2 separate regions of the Homo sapiens genome follow, and region 1 is linked to region 2. Evidence: promoter capture Hi-C in human tissues and cell types (Jung and others, 2019). All regions are on one chromosome and are shown on one strand. The core of a region is centred on a gene start or on the middle of the fragment in contact, and the rest is flanking DNA. Distances in the headings are between cores, read along the strand shown.

Region 1 (3,618 bases), core at 517-3,016, 1.5 Mb after region 2:
CTGCCTGGACTTGAGAAGTGGCCTAGATCTTGGGCCAGTGCCTGATCAAACAGATGAGGGCTATCCCTAAACCCTTGGGGCAAGACCGTCCACATAAGTTGGGATGTTTGGTCTGTGGGATCCTCAAAGGCAAAGAGAAACTGGGAGTCAGAGTGCAGGGGAATACAGAAGGAATCCTTGAGGTCCAGAACTGTGAACCATTCTGCTTCCTCTGGTATCTGAGAGAGCAGGGTATAGGGGTTGGGTATAACTCGATGTAGAGGAATTACTGCCTCATTGATGAGTCTAAGATCTTGCACTAGTCTCCACTGACCATTCAGGTTTTGTATTCCTAGAATTGGGGTGTTGCAGGGACTGCTGCATTTCCTTACTAAGCCTTGAGCTTTCAAATGTTTAACAATATTCTGTAATCCTTTATGAGCTTCAGACCTTAAGGGATATTGCCTTTGATAAGGAAAAGCGGTGGGATCTTTTAACCTGATTTGGACTGGGTGGGCATTTTTTGCCCTTCCAAATTGTCCTTCCAAAGCCCAGACTTCAGGGTTGATTCCCTCTTCAAGTAGGGGACAACAAATGGGTAACTTGTTCCCCATATTCATGTAGATAATAGCTCAGCCTTAGCTAATATATCCTTCCCTAATAAGGGTGTGGGACTTTCAGGCATAACAAGAAAGGCATGTGAAAAGGGCAAAGTCCCCCAAATACAACGGAGGAGGTGGGAGAAATACGTGGTTACAGGCTGTCCCAGGATTCCTCAGATGGTAACAGACCTTGAGGACAGTTGTCCAGGACAGGAGATTAACACTGAGAAGGCTATGCCAGTGTCCAGGAGGAAGTCAATTTCCTGGCCGTTAATGGTTAAAGGTACCCGGGGCTCAGAGAGGGTGAAGATATGAGCTGGTGCTTGCCCTGGGCACCCTCAGTCCTGTTGTTGGATCATCTGGTTGGGGACTTCTGACCCAGAGAACCCTCATCCTCTGGGGCAGCGCACCTTCCAGTGATTGCCTCAGCATAGTGGACATGGACGAGGGGGGCAGCTTGTTTCTCATTGGACAATCTTTTTTAAGGTGTCCTAGTAAACCACACTGATAACAAGCCCTACCAGGTGATTGGCCTGCTCCATTTTCTGTCCTCCCTGAACCACCAAGGTTTGTTTGTCTGAGGGCCATGACCAAGGCTGTGGCCTTTCTCTGATCTTGTTTTTCCTTTTGGGCCTATTTCTCTTGGTCCCTATTATAGAACACCAAGGTTGCCAGGTTTTAAAATGCCTCCAGATTTTTTTCAGGGCCCAGGGCTTACTTTTGGAACTTTCTCCTGATATCTGCACCTGGGGCTGATTGGGTAATAAATTTATCTTTTAGAATCAATTGACCCTCAAATGATTCAGGTGACAGGGGAATATATTTTCTTAAGGCCTCCCATAGCCGCTCAAGGAAGACAGAAGGATTTTCTTCCTTTCCCTGAGTTATGGTGGACATCATTGAATAATTCATGGGCTTTTTCCTAATTCTCTTTAGTCCTTCTAGAACACAGGTCAACAGATGTTTATGACTCCAGTCCCCATGATCTGAGTCGAGGTCCCAGTGGGGATCCATACTGGGGATGACTTGCTGACTGGTAGGGAATTTTTCCCTTTTGTTTGACTGTCATTCTATAATTTACTTGACTAAGATACCAGGTATCTCCAAACTCTCAGGCTGCAGCCAAAACCACATTCTTTTCATTAAAGGCCAGGGTTTGATCTAACAGTAGCATGACATCTCTCCAAGCGAGGGCAAAGGTTTGCCCTAGACCCTGTAGGACATCTATGTACCTATCAGGATCATCTGAAAACTTCCCCAGGTCTGCCTTGATCTGCTTTAAGTCAGAGAGGGAGAAGGGGACAGGTACCCAGGTTGCACCAAATTCCCCTCCCCCTACAGCTTGAAGGGGACATAACTGATGGCCCGATGGGGGAGTTGTGGTCCTTTGGAGATTTCTTTGCTTATTTCCTTCTGGGCAGGGGAGATTAGAGGAGGATTATTATTAATAGGAAGGGGAGTTATAGGGAGGCTAGGATATGGGGGTAAGCTGAGAGGTCCTCCTGTGGGATGTAAATTGCAAGCTTTGCATAGTTGTGTATTCTCCCTCAATGAAAAGAAAGCTTGGACATAAGGTATTTCACTCCACTTGCCTTCCCTCTTACAGAAAAGGCCAAGCTGCAGATTAGTATTGTAATTTATACCTCCCTCAGGTGGCCTTTTTTCCCCATCAGAGAGAGAATATTGGGGCCGAGCCGTAGTGCAGAAAAAAAATGAGCCGCCTCTTTTTCAGGGTTTGTGGGTCAAATTGGTCCCCATGGCTTAGGATGCATTTCAAGAGTGAGCCTGTTGATGCCTGAGTGCTTCACATCTGAAAGAAAAAACCGCCTGCAGTTTTGTTTTGTTTTGTTTCTCCTCCTGCCCAAGAACCCGCAACAGTCCCTGCACCCTGCTGATCAGAATAGTTGTGCTCACCAACACAGCAGCAGAAACACTAGTTTTCCTCCCAGACCACATGGAGGACCGAGGAAAGTCTGATTTAGTGGCCCTTTCTGACACATTCTTGAAAACCTGCACCCTTGCCTGTCCTCCTATACCACATGGAGGACCAAGAAAAATCGGATTTAGTGGCCCTTACTAACGCATTCTCAAAAACCTGTTAGAGTCCTAAGCATTTTCCTGTTAGTAATGGGACTTTACCTTTGTCCTATAAAGATGTTATGCCCCAAAAATGAAGTGGAGGGCCATACCCTGAGGGAGGGAAGAGATCTCCAGGGTTGGAATAGTTACTCCTTTTTTCCTCACTTATATGAATAGGAAGGATACAATTTCTGAGGCTCCCCATATCCTAGCTTCAGGAATAGCTTTTGTTAGGACTGTTAATCTGAGGAGGGATCCTAAAATTCCAGGTAGTACCCCCTATGATGGGGCTTTGGGCAAAAATTATGTCTTTCTGATTGGTGAGCCAGGGTGCCTAAAGAAGATAACAGAGTTTTGGAGTTTATACTAGAAGTCATTCTTATAGGAGACACTAGAAAAGCACCAGAGACAGGGAGAAATTTTTAGAAGTGCGACTAACTTTGGAGAAGAGAGGCGGACGAAGCTTGTCTGGCAGGCACTAGGACCCAAGGGGCAAGGGTCAGGATAGATAGGATAGATGGGTGAGTCTCACTTGGGCGACATGCCTTTGAGAGTTCTGCTCATGGCCGCAGGGTCAACCAACTTGTTGTCGGGACCCCGGAGCTGCATGGCTTTCCTCTCTGTCGACCCTCGGCTCAGCCCAGAAGCACAGGAAAAGCAGAAGCTGGTTCTAGGCAAACGAACACTCCCAACTCCGAAGAGTCGGGGGTTGTTAGAGAGCCCTTTCCCAGAAAGCCTGACACCCATGTTTTAGGTCCAGTGGCCAAGCTCATCACTTTTAACTAGCCTACAGGTGCCCGGTATTTAGCCCCCAAATTCTAAGGAAAACTAGGACAGAATAGCAAGTGAAAGGGGTCCGATGGTACTCACTGCTTGGCAATAGGTGACAGTCTCACCACTCAGTGATAGGCAGTGGTCTCACCACTTGGTGATAGTCTCACTGTTTGGCAATAGGCGA
Region 2 (3,269 bases), core at 1-2,500:
ACCTGCTTGCGCCGCCGCGGCCGGTACTTGTAGTTGGGGTGGTCCTGCATGTGCTGCACGCGCAGCCGCTCTGCCTCCTCCACGAAGGGCCGCTTCTCCGCCAGCGTCAGCGCCTTCCACGACTTGCCTGCACAGTGGAAGGAAGGGGGAGAGGGGCGCAGGGCTTATCGGCTGCGCTCCCGCTCCAGGCCCCACCTGGCCCCACCTGGACGCACCTCCCCCCTCAGACTTTGAATTGCGCAACCGGGGTGAAGTTAAAGAGGGAGATCTGGGACTCCTGAGTCCGAGCCCTTGGGGAACACCCGTCCTCTAAAGGCACCCCTTTCTTTTGGTCTCCTGGAAGCGGCTTTCCGCTCACCCATCACCCGGTCGTTCGAAAAACAGAAAAGGACACCTAACTAGGGAAGGGGTCGAGGGATGGACACAACCGGCCCAGTTCAGGGCCAAGGGTGCTCTCGCGCCGCCCGGAGGTGCCGGGAAGTCGCCTTCCCAGAGCCGTTGGACCCGCGCCCCCGGCCACCTGGGGAATCCGGGAGCCGGAGAGCAAGGCGGAAAGCTGCTTTGGAGGGTCGGAGGGCGGGAAGCGGGAAGGGAACCCAGAGCCTTAAGAAAGGACGTGGCCGCTACACACCCCTGGTTTTGGGCGTCAGGCTCGCAAAGAACAGTTTGGGGTTTAAGAAATCGGCCTAGCGATTCGCGCCAGCGCGCCCGGCCGCCTGGGTCTGCGACTCGGACTCACCCAGCATCTTGCTCAACTCGGCGTTGTGCAGGTCTGGATTCTGCTGCGCCAGCCGCTTGCGCTCGTCCTTAGCCCACACCATGAAAGCGTTCATCGGCCGCCGGATACGGGACTCGCCCTTGGCTCGGCCCGCGGCCCCGGCCGGTGCTCCGCTGTTCGCCGGCGCCTCGCCCTTCACCTTCATGTCCCCGATGGGGCTCAGCGACTCGGCCCAGGGGCAGGGGCCCAGCCCGGCCATCACCGCGGGCAGCGCGCTCTGGGTCTGGCTCTGGTCGTCACTGGCGTATCCCGCATCCGGGCTGCTCATGGCGCTCCAGGCCTGCCCCGCTCCCCTCAACCCTCCGCCGGACGCGCCGCCTCCCCCGACCCGGGGGAGGGGGTGGGGAGTGAGGCACTGAGATGCCCCGAGGGCTGCGCGGGTCTCCCGGCCCGAAGCCGCCGCCCGTGTTCTGGCCTGTCGCGGTCTGGTCTACAGCGTACCCAGGGCCCCCAGCCGGCCTAGTGACACTGCGGGCGCCCCTGGGCCGCGGGGCCTTTTCTGCACAGATGTGGCCAATGGAGCGGCGAGGGCGGGCCGGTCCCGCGTCGTTAGGCCCACGCCCAGGCCGTGGTCCGAGTCCCACGTCCCAGTCCAACCCCACGCCCGCCCCTTGCCCCTCCCCCGGCCCCGCGCCCAAGGCTACACCTGCCCCCGGGAAAACTAGCCGGAGCTGGGCTCTGGCGCCGCGTCCTCTCCCACCGGGGTTAGGGAGACTCGAAAAGCCGTCTGGGAGGGCTGATTGTACCTTGGAATCGACGTACTTGCCCAAGGTCGTTTAGATGAACATACCGAGCGTCCATTCTATTCTCTTTAAAGCACATCTTTTTGCAGAAGCCGAGGGTGTTTCAGTGGTGGGTGACCTAGTTTACTTCCAAGGAACTGCATGGGCATCTTCAAATGTGTTTTCTCAAATGCGAAAGACACCGTTGATAATAAATTTAAAAATACAATTTTTCCCCCAGGACTCAACTTGCCTGTGTTATATTCAAAATGCTGTGTCCAAGATAAATCCTAATTTTCTAAAGCAAGATTAAATATGGAACGACGTTCTGTATCCAATATTCCTTCACTCTAAAGAATAAAGCATTTACTCATGACAAGCCAACCAGTTTTTATGTGTATCTTATTATACACATCATGTGAAAGTACGAAAATGTATACATGATGTATATAAGATACGCATAACAAAACTGTTTCTCGTATGTGTTCAGTAACAGGTGAGCCTTAATACTGATTTCTAAAATGTAAAGACAGCAGCAATATTTGTCTAAATGTCCGAGTTTGTTTGGGGGAAGAGAACAATCTGTTTTAGCTGCAAAGTAACTGTGGTTCTTACAGTCAGTTTAAAGCGGTTATTCTGGCAGATAATTAGATTTCTATAAGTTTCTTTAGACTGGAATGAAATCTGAATGACTATTAAACTTGTGTTTCGATCTGGAAAAAAAAAAAGTTTTCAGTGGGACTTTTAAAACAAGCCGTTATACAACACTGAGAAATGACACAGCCTGCCACTGCTATTCCTAGCGCCCTCCAGCATTAGCAAAGAAGCATATCCTCATATTAACCCTGAGGTAGACTCTATCTTACAGGAAAGGAAACGGAGGCAGAGAAGTTAAGGAACTTGCTGGAGACTACAGCGTTGAGAAGGTGGAATTCACACCCAGCAGTCCGCCTTCAGACTTGCAGCTCTTAATAATCACTAAGCCAGGCTGTTGTGTTTGTGTATTTGTGTTGGTTTTTGAGGGCAACTAACAGCCATTCCTGCATAATTAGAGATAACTTTGCAAAGAAATCAATATACGAATCTCCAGAACAGATTTTCTTTATTATGAAGGCGTGATAAAAAAGTAGAGCTTACACCTGGAATCTGAGAAGTAAAATGCTGCTGCTTTGAGTGTGATACTACAACAACAAGACCGTCTGTCCAGTCTTGCTTATTAGTGGCATCCATAAAAATACAAAACTTTTGCAAACTCCTGGCCTTCAGTTTCTCTGGCATTGCTTTTTCTCAAAAGAACTCTTACACAATTGTTTTAAGCCAACTTATCTTTAATTCTGCAAGTATCTGTGAAGCCTTGGCTAGGGGACAAGTTAAGAAAGTGTTTCTAGTTCCTGGGTCTCTAAGATTCAAACAAGAAAAAAAATTAAATCTGCATAAAGAAATCATAGAGAGGTGTTACTTCTAGTTGGTAGTTTTGAAAGCGGTTGATTTTAGACAAATTTAAATGATGATGTACTTTTAAAGCTTTATTTTTTCTGAAAAAAAAATGGGCTTCAGTATAAAGCAAAAGCACATTGCAAATGATTAAATAAGCAACAAAACTATAGGAGGAGAGAGAGCAATCTACAAATTAACCCCGTAGTACCTTGTTTTTTGCTGTTTTTTTTTTTTTTTTTTTTGAGATCTTTTCTAACTTTTCTGGATAATAATAAATATTTTTCAAAGCTCTCAAAGCAGAATTTTCTCTTAACACTAAATCTTTTATGAGC

Evidence for each region. The method cuts DNA at HindIII sites, captures the fragments that hold promoters and counts their contacts. A contact is called where the count stands out against the background at its distance.
Region 1: a fragment that was not itself captured here is called in contact with the fragment with the promoter of SOX17 in region 2 in 1 of the 25 tissues and cell types used here (dorsolateral prefrontal cortex).

The regions. Positions count from the first base shown.
Region 1 is chr8:52,955,146-52,958,763 of GRCh38, reverse strand. No RefSeq gene overlaps it. Among named protein-coding and RNA genes, the nearest start is that of NPBWR1, 18 kb to the right of the region's middle. The HindIII fragment of the contact is 6,265 bases long and covers 1-3,618 here.
Region 2 is chr8:54,455,916-54,459,184 of GRCh38, reverse strand. SOX17 (SRY-box transcription factor 17) reads right to left here and starts at 1,250. Exons shown (of 2, transcript NM_022454.4): 1 at 740-1,250; 2 at 1-127. The coding sequence starts at 1,046. The HindIII fragment of the contact is 11,857 bases long and covers 1-3,269 here.